Regions from separate parts of the Homo sapiens genome. Here region 2 is linked to region 1. Evidence: promoter capture Hi-C in 16 types of primary human blood cells and fetal thymus (Javierre and others, 2016). All regions are on one chromosome and are shown on one strand. The core of a region is centred on a gene start or on the middle of the fragment in contact, and the rest is flanking DNA. Distances in the headings are between cores, read along the strand shown. Region 1 holds the start of NDUFA7 (NADH:ubiquinone oxidoreductase subunit A7). Region 2 overlaps INSR (insulin receptor).

The links. The method cuts DNA at HindIII sites, captures the fragments that hold promoters and counts their contacts. A CHiCAGO score of 5 or more calls a contact.
Region 2: a fragment that was not itself captured here is called in contact with the fragment with the promoter of NDUFA7 in region 1 in 1 of 17 cell types (total B cells); the score reaches 7.0 in total B cells.

The regions. Positions count from the first base shown.
Region 1 is chr19:8,318,975-8,324,962 of GRCh38, forward strand. NDUFA7 (NADH:ubiquinone oxidoreductase subunit A7) reads right to left here and starts at 2,401. Exons shown (of 4, transcript NM_005001.5): 1 at 2,334-2,401; 2 at 1,883-1,932. The coding sequence starts at 2,384. It overlaps RPS28 (ribosomal protein S28), which reads left to right and starts at 2,522. Exons shown (of 4, transcript NM_001031.5): 1 at 2,522-2,595; 2 at 2,682-2,729; 3 at 2,979-3,117; 4 at 3,298-4,366. The coding sequence starts at 2,557. The coding sequence ends at 3,101. It overlaps KANK3 (KN motif and ankyrin repeat domains 3), which reads right to left. Exons shown (of 11, transcript NM_198471.3): 8 at 5,977-5,988; 9 at 5,656-5,856; 10 at 5,475-5,573; 11 at 3,610-3,948. The coding sequence ends at 3,865. RefSeq lists enhancers at 521-1,488, 1,489-2,456, 2,311-2,550, 2,457-3,424, 3,425-4,390. The HindIII fragment of the contact is 9,773 bases long and covers 1-3,539 here.
Region 2 is chr19:7,193,348-7,199,335 of GRCh38, forward strand. The region is part of intron 2 of INSR (insulin receptor); the gene reads right to left. Among named protein-coding and RNA genes, the nearest start is that of INSR, 98 kb to the right of the region's middle. RefSeq lists enhancers at 3,989-4,188, 4,001-4,837 and a silencer at 4,669-5,298. The HindIII fragment of the contact is 283 bases long and covers 3,087-3,369 here.

The sequences.
Region 1 (5,988 bases), core at 1,151-3,650:
GAAAAAAAAAAAAAGACCAATAAAACATCCAGATGAATCACTAGAGGGTGCCGTCATCCTAAAAAAGTCAAAACTTTCACAAAGCCATTTCCTCAACTGGCCCACAACTACCCTGATAGAAAGCCAACTAGGGGGGTCGGGGGTTGGGGGGGAGAGAGCATCAGGAAGAATAGCTAATGGATGCTGGGCTTAATACCTAAGTGATAGGTTGATCTTTGATCTTTGCAGCAAACTACCATGGCACGTTTACCTTTGTAACAAAACTGCAAATGTACCCCAGAACTTAACGTTAAAGTTGAAAACAAGCCGGGCGCAGTGGCTCACACCTGTAATCCCAGCACTTTGGGAGGCCGAGGCAGGCGGATTATGAAGTCAGGAGTTCGAGACCAGACTGGCCAACATGGTGAAACCCCGTTTCTACTAAAAATACAAAAAATTAGTCAGGCGTGGTGGCACATGCCTGTAATCCCAGCTACTTGGGAGGCTGAGGCAGGAGAATCGCTTGAACCCGGGAGATGGAGATTGCAGTGAGCTGAGATTGTGCCATTGCACTCCAGCCTGGGCAATAAGAGCAAAACTCCGTCTCAAAAAAAAAAAAAAAAAAAAGTTGAAAACAAAGTTTGATACTTCTAATATTTGGAATTAGTCACAACATATAGGCATTTACATAAATTTCATTATTTTAATGCTATTTTTCTTCCTTTCATTATAATCCTCAATGACTGCCTTACCTCTGCCTACCCTTTGACTTCATAGATTATACCATTATCCCTTTCCCTCAATGGGTTCCATCCATACTGGCCTCCTTCCACTCAGGCTCTGTCCAGCCTGACACTCTTAGCCCTTCCTGTTCCCTCTGCTCAGAATGTTTTTTCTTTTTTATTTTTTTGAGACAGAGTGTTGTTCTGTCACCCAGGCTGGAGTGCAGTGGTGCGATCTCAGCTCACTGCAATATCCACCTCCTGTGTTCAAGCGATTCTCCTGCCTCAACCTCCCGAGTAGCTGGGACTACCCGCGCGCGCCACCACGCCCGGCTAATTTTTGTATTTCTAGTAGAGAGGGGGTTTTACTGTGTTTCACTGTGTTGGCCAGGCTGGTCTCAAACTCCTGACCTCGTGATCCGCCTGCCTCAGCCTCCCCAAGTGCTGGGATCACAAGCGTGAGCCACCGCGCCCGGTCAGAATGTTTTTTCAATAATTATTCTTTGAATGGGTCCTTCCCATCATTCAGGGGACTCAACTGTCAATTTCCAAAGAAAGATCTTTCCCAATCATCTGACTTTACGTAGCCACCCTCCAGCTTCCACTTATTTTGTTTTGTCTTCAAAGCATTCCAGAACAATACTACCTGCTGTGTTTGTTTCCCTACTATGCTTCTCCCTAGAATGTGGCGTCCATGAAAGAATGTGGATAAGAACTTTCCTGGTTCACAAAGTTAAACCCAAGGCTGAGGTCATACATGACGGGGGCTTGTAAATATCAACTAATATTTTAATATAAATGAGTCTGAAATCAGGACACTTCTGGGTTCAAGTCCCCGCTGCCACTTTTTAGCTTCTGAGTGACTTGAGGCAAATGATTTCGCCTCTCTGGACCTCTTTTTTCATCTGTAGCTTGGGGATAACACTGACTAACATGGCCACGCTGAGCACTGCAAATCTAGCCTGATTGCCAGTCAGAATGCACGCCCGGCCTCGCTGTTTCAGGAGGGCTGTCCTCCGGAGTTCAGCAAGGTTAAAGGCAAACCTCTGCCTCCACAGCCTGGCAGGGGACTGGTGGCAGGATGTCAGCCCTCCGTTTCAGGGGTCTAAAGGAACACAGATTTCGTTTTTGGTGGAGAAAGGACAGAGCCAGAGGCTGGGCAGCGAGCGGGGCCTGCTCACCGCTTGGAGATCTCCTGGTAGCGTAGCTGCAGCTTCCCCTGCAGGTCATGCTGTGGGAAGAGGAGAGGAGAGGTCGGCCTGCAAGGCACCCCAGGAGAGAGGAAAGGAGAGGGCAAGGGACCAGGGATGGTCCGGGGATGCGCATTTTAAGGGAAGGCAGGGGATGAACACTCGGGGAAACGGATGTGGGTCCTGCAGGTGAAGAGCAAAGCCAGAGTCCGGGCCCACAGATCCAAGGCTAAGAAGGTCGGGGACTGGGGAAATCCCAGGCCTGAGTGGTTCCCAGGCCAGGAGAGGGTCCCGGGCTGAAGGGGTGACTAGCTGGGGGTTCCCAGGGAGATTCGGGGAGAGCGAAGGGTCCCGGCTTAGGAGGGAGGTGAGGAGCAGGAGCGGGTCCCGGACACACGGAGCCCGAAGCCCCCCATGGTGCAGCCCTGTCCGCCCCGCGCACCCCGGACGCCCAGTTCCGCAGCCGCTGGATGAGACGGGTGGCGGACGCCATCTTCCGTCCGCGATACTGAAGGGCGCAGCCGGTGACGTCTCCACCGCTGGGGCTGCTGGGAAAGACGCGGCGTGGTATCGCGAGACGGGAGTGGGCGGTGCTAGAACGTCCTATAAAGGCTCTCCCCGAAGCACGTGACTCCTCTCCGCCAGACCGCCGCCGCGCCGCCATCATGGACACCAGCCGTGTGCAGCCTATCAAGCTGGCCAGGGTGAGGTGGGGGCCCGAATTTGGGGGCAGGGGGAGGGATTAGAGGAGCCAAACGGGCCGGGTCTGAACCCAGCTTCTTTCCTCCAGGTCACCAAGGTCCTGGGCAGGACCGGTTCTCAGGGACAGTGCACGCAGGTAATCGGGTGGGGGCATTTGGCCGACTGCCGGCGACCTAAACCCTGATGTGACCTCTACCCTGCCCTAACCCCTGCCAGCCGGAATCCGGGAGCCGATTCTCATTTCATCACGGGGTTCTGATGGTTCCCTTTAACGATCTGTATTCTGGCCCCGACACGTTCTCTGAATTCATATCTGCTTCCCACTCCGCGGTGCCTTTCCGCGGCCCGCCCTTACTTCTTCCTCCACTCCGGTGGGGACCCGTAGGTGCGCGTGGAATTCATGGACGACACGAGCCGATCCATCATCCGCAATGTAAAAGGCCCCGTGCGCGAGGGCGACGTGCTCACCCTTTTGGAGTCAGAGCGAGAAGCCCGGAGGTTGCGCTGAGCTTGGCTGCTCGCTGGTGGGTGCAAAGAGGACACCCCTTTGATAGACCTTTGGTTGGTGGTAGGGAGGCTTCGTTAAGCCCAGGGTGAGAGGGTTTGGGAGGCAGAGTCTACATACAGAGACTGACAAGAGGGAGGCGGGAGTTTGCCAATTGCTGCGGGGCCTGTCAACATCTCATGTTTGGGTCTGTTTACAGGGTCTTGGATGTCGGGTTCGACCACTTGGCCGATGGGAATGGTCTGTCACAGTCTGCTCCTTTTTTTTGTCCGCCACACGTAACTGAGATGCTCCTTTAAATAAAGCGTTTGTGTTTCAAGTTAACTCAGGTTCTTGTCTGGGTTATACGACTAGGGTTTCTCCAGGTTTCTTGAGTGGCTCCCAGGCGGTCACCGATCCTCCGCACTCTGGAAATCCTGGCCGTGCGGTCTTGCCAAACGAAGCTTTTCCTTTTTGAGGCGGGGGGTCGTGTTTGTCGATTGCACCCTCTACCCCAAACAAAACACAAGCGTAGTAGGAATGTTTTATTAGCAAAGAAGTTTCAGAGAGTGGGTGGATCAGGGCTCTATCACTTGGTCCCCACCTCACCTTGGTGGGGCCAGAGTGAGCCCCTTCCTGCCACAGTCACCCCAACTGAAATTGCCTTTCTCTTCGGCCAGTGTTAGCCTCTGAGCAGGGGACCCTGGACCCTTCTGTGCGCCAAAGGCTGAGGTGACTGACGAGGAGATCTCCCCACAGCTAGGTGTAGTGAGCCAGACGAGGCAGCTTACTGAACCTGGGGGTTCTCTCCATTGTCACCGCATTCTCCTTCACCAGGTGTGGCTGTCTGGGAGCCAGGGGGTGACTCGCTCTGGAGAGAGGGGAAAAGAGGGGGGCCTGCTGCAATCTCCTTGAGGCAGGAAACGTGGGATTCAGCCCCAGCCTCACTTAGTGGAGGTTCTTTTACCATGGACCCAGGCTGCCTGGTTTGTATCCAACCTCTGCCCCTTCTGACCTGGAAGAGGCGCTTGACCTTCCTCCCACATCCCTTCCAGTGGGGTGAGTACAGGTGTTCCTCAGTTTACAATGGGTTACATTCCGGTGAGTACATCATAGGTTGAAAGTATTGCAAGTTGAAATGTGTTTAATACACCTAATCTCCCAAACATCACAGCTTAGCATGGTCCATCTTAAGCTTGTTCAGAACGCCTTAGCCTGTAGTTGGGGAAACTCGTCTAACACGAAGCCTGTTTTAATAAAGTATTGAATGTCTTATGTAATTTATTGAATACTCTGCTGAAGTGTGGTTTTTACTAAGCACACATTGCTTTTATGCTATCATGAAGTCAAAAAATTGTAAGTTGTGCCAGGCGCGATGGCTCACAGCTGTTGTAATCCCAGCTACTTGGGAGGCTGAGGCAGGAGAATTTCTTGAACCTGGGAGGTGGAGGTTGCAGTGAACTGAGATTGTGCCGCTGCACTCCAGCCTGGGTGACAGAACGAGACTCTTGTCTTCAAATGAAAAAAAAAAATTAGCTGGGCATGGTAGCACGTGCCTGTAGTCCCAACTACTTGAGAGGCTGAGGCAGAAGAATCGCTTGAACCCCAGAGGTGGAGGTTGCAGTGAGCTGCAGTCGCCCCACTGCACTCTAGCCTCGGTGACAGAGGAAGACTCCATCTCAAAAATAAATAAAAAATGGTAAGTGGAGCCATGGTAAATTGGGGTCAACCTGTACAGGATGAGTGGGCTGATTAGATAACTTGGATTATGAAAGTGCTAAAACATCCTGGCACTTGGCCATCAGAGTATAGTGGTGTTGGGGGTTAATGTGTTCTGCAAACTCACCCAGTCTCCAGTTCTGAAGCTCTGGACCCCCTTCCCCACCCTGCCTGATGCCAAAGGGCTCCTTTTTCCTTTGATAAGAGCCTCCCTGGCAGTAGGTAACAGGAGCCCAGGGGCATGCATGAAAGGTCTTAGCTAGGTCTCTGTGACCTTAGGTTACTTCCCCCCTTGAGGACTCAGTCTCATGACCTGGGGTAGTGTCAACCTCACTGGGGTTTTGCTGCTTTCACATCAAATCCCAGCCCCTGCCAGGCGCTCTGGTTTCACACCTGTAATCCCAGCACTTGAGGATGCTGAGGCAGAAGGATCCCTTGAGCTCAGGAGTTTGTGGCTGCAGTGAGCTCTGATCACACCACTACACCCCAACCCGGGTTACAGAGTGAGACCCTGTCTCCCAAAAAAGAAAAGCAGCCACATAGGAGAATCCAGACACTGGTTCTGCACCCCTGGTGCCACCTTTGGGGAGCAGAAAGGGAGGCTCAGGGCATATTTACTATCCTCTGCAAACTGAATTTGCAGCTGGGAAAGTTTGTTTCTTCCAGAGCTGTGCTCACCTGGGTGTCGGGCTGGCCCGAGCTCAGGTGGGCATGTAGCAGAGCGGCCACCTCATCCTGCTCAGCCTCCAGGGCGATGGCCAGGGCACTGGTGCCCTCCTGTGGAACGTTAGGGACAGTCAGATCCCTGAGCCAAGCCATGGGCACCCCCCAAGATGCCAGCCCCATTGTGGGGTCTTACATTGTCCAGGATGGCAGGGTCACAGCCTGGCTGGGTGAGCAGCAGCCGCACGGTGTCCAGGCGCCCATACTCACTGGCACACATCAGCGCTGTGGCCCCATCCGCATCCTGCGCATTCACATCAGCCCCACACGCCAGTAGGGTTGCCACCATGTCCTGTCGGCCATGGCTGATGGCCAGCATGAGGGCTGTCTGCCCCGTCTGGGGAGTGGGGAGGAAGAGGGAACAGGCTGGGGTAGGCTCAGGGAAGGGAGGTCACAGGTTGACTCCCAAAGTGGAAGTGACTCCTGGCTGAGAGCCACAGTGGGGGCGCCCACGCACCTGACTGGCCTT
Region 2 (5,988 bases), core at 1,978-4,477, 1.1 Mb before region 1:
CGAAAAATATAAAAATTAGCTGAGCATGGTGTCGCGCACCTGTAGTCTCAGCTACATGGGAGGCTGAGGCAGGAAAATCACCTGAACCTGGGGAGCGGAAGTTGCAGTGAGCTGAGATCACGCTACTGCACTCCAGCCTGGCGACAGAGTGAGACTCCATCTCATAAAAAAACAAACAAAAAAATTAGGGGCAGGAGGGGGGAGGACACATGGGACATATGTCCCTCTGAAAGGGACACAAAAAAGTGCCCTATTTTATTTTTATTTTTTACTATGTATGTGTACTATCCTGTCAAAACTGACATATATTTGGAAATACATATTTTTTTCAAGTAGCTTCTTCTTTCATTTATTTATTTAGAGACAGTGTCTCACTCTGTCGCCCAGGCTGGAGTGCAGTGGCATGATCTTGGTTCACCGTAACCTCCGCCTCCCAGGTTCAAGTGCTCCTCCTACCTCAGCCTCCTGAGTAGCTGGGACTACAGGCGTACACCACCATGCTTGGCTAATTTTTGTATATGTATATATACATTTGGTAGAGATGAGGTCTCACAATATTGCCCAGGCTGGTCTTGAACTCCTAGGCTCAAGAGATCCGCTCTCCCCGAGCTCCCAAACTGGGCATAGGCGTAAGCCACAATGCCCAGCCAGGAAATACATTTTTCAAAAGCCTCTGCTAGACAGTAAACAATGTTATTGATCAGTTACATGATTCTACTCCCAAATATTCTAATAATGACAGGCATCGGTGAGAGCTTTTACAAAGGTTCTCTTAAAATCATCTTTGTTGGCTGGGCATGGTGGCTCACGCCTGTAATCCCAGCACTTTGGGAGGCTGATGCAGGAAGATCACTTGAGGTCAGGAGTTCGAGACCAGCCTGGCCAACATGGTGAAACACTCTCTATTCAAAATACAAAAATTAGCTGGGCGTGGTGGTAGGCACCTATAATCCCAGCTACTTGGGAGGCTGAGGCAGGAGAATTGCTTGAACCCAGGAGGCAGTCGTTGCAGTCAGCCAAGATCGTGCCACTGCACTCCAGCCTGGACGACAGAATGAGACTTCATCTCAAAAAAAGAAAAAAAAATTATCTTTGCCTTATTACAAAATCAATATGGGGCTCAGGGGTGAAGTGTGGAGTGTGTTTTAATAATAGCTTTGCTTTTTTTTTTTTTTTTTTTTTTGAGACAAAATCTCTTTCTGTCACCCAGGCTGGAGTGCAGTGGTGCAATCTTGGCTCACTGTAACCCCCATGTCCTGGGTTCAAGCGATTCTCCTGCCTCAGCCTCCTGAGTAGCTGGGATTACAGGCACACGCCACCACACCAACTGATTTTTTTTTTTTTTTTTTTTTTAGTGGAGAAGCGGTTTCACCATGTTGGCCAGGCTGGTCTCAAACACGTGACCTCCGTCTGCCTTGGCCTCTTAAAGTGCTGGTACAGGTGTGAGCCACCGCGCCAGGCCAGCTTTGCTCTTTTATGGACTATTCAACAAATTGTTAGCATTTCTCTTTTTTCTTTTTTTCATTCAACAAACACATGTCGAATGTCCCAGTGTGCCAAATCATAGGAAACCTGTTCTCGTATTAAATGAAAAAGCATCAGAACATAGATGACACAAAAACCCCATCCCCTGTCCTCGAGACATCCAGGTTTAGCATTGTCCTCAGCCCCCAGCAGCATCCCCTCCTGCAGGGGGAAAAGAAAAGGAAAAAATCCCACAGTACTAGAAAATGGCAAGAGTAAATCTTGTTGTGGGAAACTTTTCATTCAGGTATATGCATGTCTTGGGTACTGAGCCTTACGGGAAATGTATTTCTTCTTAAAAATTCTAGTTAAAAATACTTCAAGTAACATTGCCCACAATAGTGGGACAAGGCAACAACACGTACTTCCCATTATGAGGCAATGAAAAAGACAAAATATTTGTGTAGCTTTCTTTCCATATATTACTAACCCTAGCTTGAGGTCATTCGATAAAATAACTGGCCTGTGCTCTTCAAAACTGCCAATGTTGGCCAGGTGTGGTGGCTAACACGTGTAATCCCAGCACTTTGGGAGGCTGAGGCAGGAAGATCACTGGAGATCAGGAGTTCGAGACCAGCCTGGCCAACATGGTGAAACCCTTTCTCTACTAAAAACACAAAAATTAGCTGGGTGTGGTGGCGCATGCCTGTAATCCCGGCTACTTGGGGGCTGAGGCAGGAGAATCACTTGAACCCAGGAGACAGAGGTTGCAGTCAGCCAAGATCTCACCACTGCACTCTAGCCTGGGTGACAGAGTAAGACTCCGCCTCAAAAAAAAATAAAAATAAATAAATAAATAAATAAATAAAAGCCAATGTTGGGAAAGACACAGAAAACTGAGGAATTGTGCGGACTTAAGAGACAGCAGCATTCAAATGCAAAGTGTGATCCTAGATTGGAACCTTCGCCTAGGAAAAAAAATCTATATAGGGCAATATTGAGACAACAGATAAGATTATAGAAGACATTGGATTAAAATACTGTATCAATGTTAATTTCCTGATTTTGACAACGGCACCAGTACCATCATTATGTAAGAGAACTTTCTTTCTTTTCTTTCTTTTTTTTTTTTTTTTTGTTTGAGACGGAGTTTCGCTCTTGTTGCCCAGGCTGGAGTGCAATGGCACCATCTCGGCTCACTGCAACCTCTGCCTCCCAGGTTCAAGCGAACCTCCTGCCTCAGCCTCCCGAGTAGCTGGGATTACAGGCATGTGCCACCACGCCTGGCTAATTTTGTATTTTTAGTAGAGACGGGGCTTCTCCAAGTTGGTCAGGCTGGTCTCGAACTCCTGACCTCAGGTGATCCGCCCGCCTCAGCTTCCCAAAGTGCTGGGATTACAGGCATGAGCCACCACGCCTGGCCTCAGAACTTTCTTGTTCTTAGGAAATATCCACTGAAGAATTAAGGAGTATGTATCATGCCTGCAACTAACTCTCAAATAGTTCAGGGGAAAAAAATGTATATAATGTGTGTGCATAAATATATTAGAAAGGTAATAAAACAAGTAGAATAAAACGTAAACAATTGATTGATCTAGATATAATCTTGCAATTTTTCCGTAAGCTTGAAACGACATCAAAACAAAAAGCGACCAATTTGTCCAAAGCAAGGTTAAAAGCCAGAGAAATAGGAGACGCAGCGCTGCATTGTTAAATGACTTGCGCACAAAAATCCAGTCACTCTGACACTTTTTTGTTTGCCTCCCTTTTAAAGTTCAAATTAGTTTGGGTTTTTCTTAATTAAGAAGGTATGTGATAAAAAACAAAACAGAAAATACAGAAACCACCATTAAATGATTCGATAGCTCCACATATGTTAATAACATTTTGTTACATTCTTTCCAAAGCTTAAAACTTTCCGAAGTTTAAAAAAAACTTAAAAAAAAAAAGTTTAAAAACCTTTCCAAAGTTTAAAAAAAAAATACTCAAGATTTATGATTCCAAAAATTACTGCTTTCCAGAAATTTCCAAACGGAACAGTTGCGTCATGGGCCTGCTGGTACATTGACCACAGGGCCCCGCGGCTCTCCCTATAAGTGTGAGTTTTATAAACTCCTTAAAGTAATTTATTTTGTTTCCATTCAAGGCCTTTCTCTCCCACACTGGCCCCAGACCCTGACCTCAGAGGTTCGAGTCCCCGGAGCCAAATTCCTCTAGTTGGAATCTAGTAAATGATTTAATGGCAAAGGGGCAGGGGTTGGGGGCAGCCAAGGAGGTGAACTTTTGACAGCTTCGTGGTCAGCAGCGACGACCGCAGGAGCGCGTGTCCTTGAAGCGGGGAAGCGCCCCTTTTCCTTGCCTGACAATACCGCCCCACACGCGATGACGCCTTTGGAATAGAACTGCGCAGCTCTTTGGAGACATACGGCGCATATAGAGGCTAGAAAGGGAACAGAGTACCAGAGGGCCTTCCCGCTTCGGGAGCCGCAGGCTTCTTCTCTTCGGAGAGAGAGTGAGTGAGTGAGTAAGCGAGTGAGTGAGTGAGTGGGGAGGGAGTGAGTCCGTCCACGGGGGCGGGCCCTCTCCATGCTGCGGATCTCTTAGGAGATATACTGCGCACGCAGAGGCCCGGAAGGAGGCGGGGTCCCAGGGGTCTCCTCGCTAGAGCAGCCCCAGGATTGGCAGGTTCCAGAGTGGGAGTGGGGGTGTGTGTGTGTGTGTGTGTGTGTGTGTGTCAGGTTCCAGAGTGGGAGTGTGTGTGTTTGGGTGTGTGTGTGTGTGTGTGTGTCAGATTCCAGAGTGGGAGTGTGTGTGTGTTTGGCAGGTTCCAGAGTGGGAGTGTGTGTGTGTGTTTGGCAGGTTCCAGAGTGGGAGTGTGTGTGTGTGTTTGGCAGGTTCCAGAGTGGGAGTGTGTGTGTGTGTGTGATTGGCAGGTTCCAGAGTGGGAGTGTGTGTGTGTGTGTGTGTGTGTCCCCAGGATTGGTCGGTTCCAGAGTGGGAGAGAGAGCGAGAGAGAGAGAGAACGAGAGAGAGAGAGAGAGAACGAGAGAGAGTGTGTGCGCGTGTGTGTCTGTGCAGCCCCAGGATTGGTCGGTTCCAGAGTGAGAGTGTGTGTGTGTGTGTGTGTGTGTGTGTGTCCCCATGGTGGGAGTGTGTGTGTGTCCCCATGGTGGGAGTGTGTGTGTGTCCATGGTGGGCGAGCGTGTGTGTGTGTCCATGATGGGCGTGTGTGTGTGTCTGCGTGTGTGCCCGTGTCTGCGTGTGTGCCCATGGGGGCGAGGGAGGGAGCCCTAGGCGCTCAAGGCTCCGCCCCCTCGAGCCGGAGGCCTCAGCGCAGCACAAAGCCCGGGGCGCACTCCGCTCCGGGGAATCCGGCCCCGGCGGTTGCGGCGGCCGCAGCGCCGCCCTCGCGCTCAGCCAATGGGCGGGCGTGCTGCAGGGGCGCTGGCCCCGCCCCCCGGGTGCGCCGGGCTCCGCTCCCCAGACTGGCGCTCGGGCAGTGGCCGCCGCCGGGCGGTCCCGGCCAGAGGAAAGGGCGCCCTGGGAGGGCCCCTCGTGGCTGCAGACCCCGCAGGTCGAGTCTGCCACGGATGGAACTTTGGAAAAAGCTAGGGAAAAGGAGAAACCGAGCTTGCAAGGGCTCATCAAGCATCCACCGGGGTGGCTTAGGCTGCGCGCGGCGCTGGGCGTGTGCCCGGGAGGAGATCGGGTCACCGCGTGGCAGCTCCCGGGACTGCCGAGGGGCCCCCTGACCCCAGGCCTCCCTCGGGAGGGGTCCAGAAAGGTGCAGCGGCTCACTAGGGTCACACAGCAAAATTCCTCACATTGCAGGGGGGGAGGGTCCGCATCTCCGAACTCGCCGGGCCAGTGCACCCTCTATTCTCACCCACCACTCACCCAGAAAACGAGAACCATACTCATAAATACATTCTTAAAATCCACAGGCTACGTTTTTGGGGTAACCTCCAGCCAGTATTCCGCATGCATTTGAAAACTTGTGTGTCCCCATTGAATTTGCAGTTCCAGTAAACCAAGGCAGCGAGTGGACATTCTCATTTAACATTCACCCCCATAAATACACTTTTTTTGGGGGGGGGGTCTCACTCTGTCGCCTCAGGCTGGAGTGCAGTGGTGTGATCATCGCCCACTGCAGCCTCAAACTCCTGGGCTCAAGCCATCCTCCCACCTCAGCCTCCCGAGTAGCTGGGACTACAGGCGTGCATCACTATGCCTGGCTAATTTTTTCTATTTTTTTGTAGACATGGGGACTCGTTGCCCAGGCTGGTTTAGAACTCCTGGCCTCAAGTGATCCTCTTGCCTCAGTCTACCAAAGTGTTGGGATTACAGGCATGAATACACTTTAAAGTGTGTAATCTGTTTGCAGCACACACGGTCCAATCCATCAATGAGGTCATATTAACTCAATTATTCAAGCAATCATCACCATTAGAATTGGAGAAACCGAGGCATAGAGGGGCTACTTTGCCAATAACCAGCTCTGCCAGAACTCGAATCCAGGTCTCC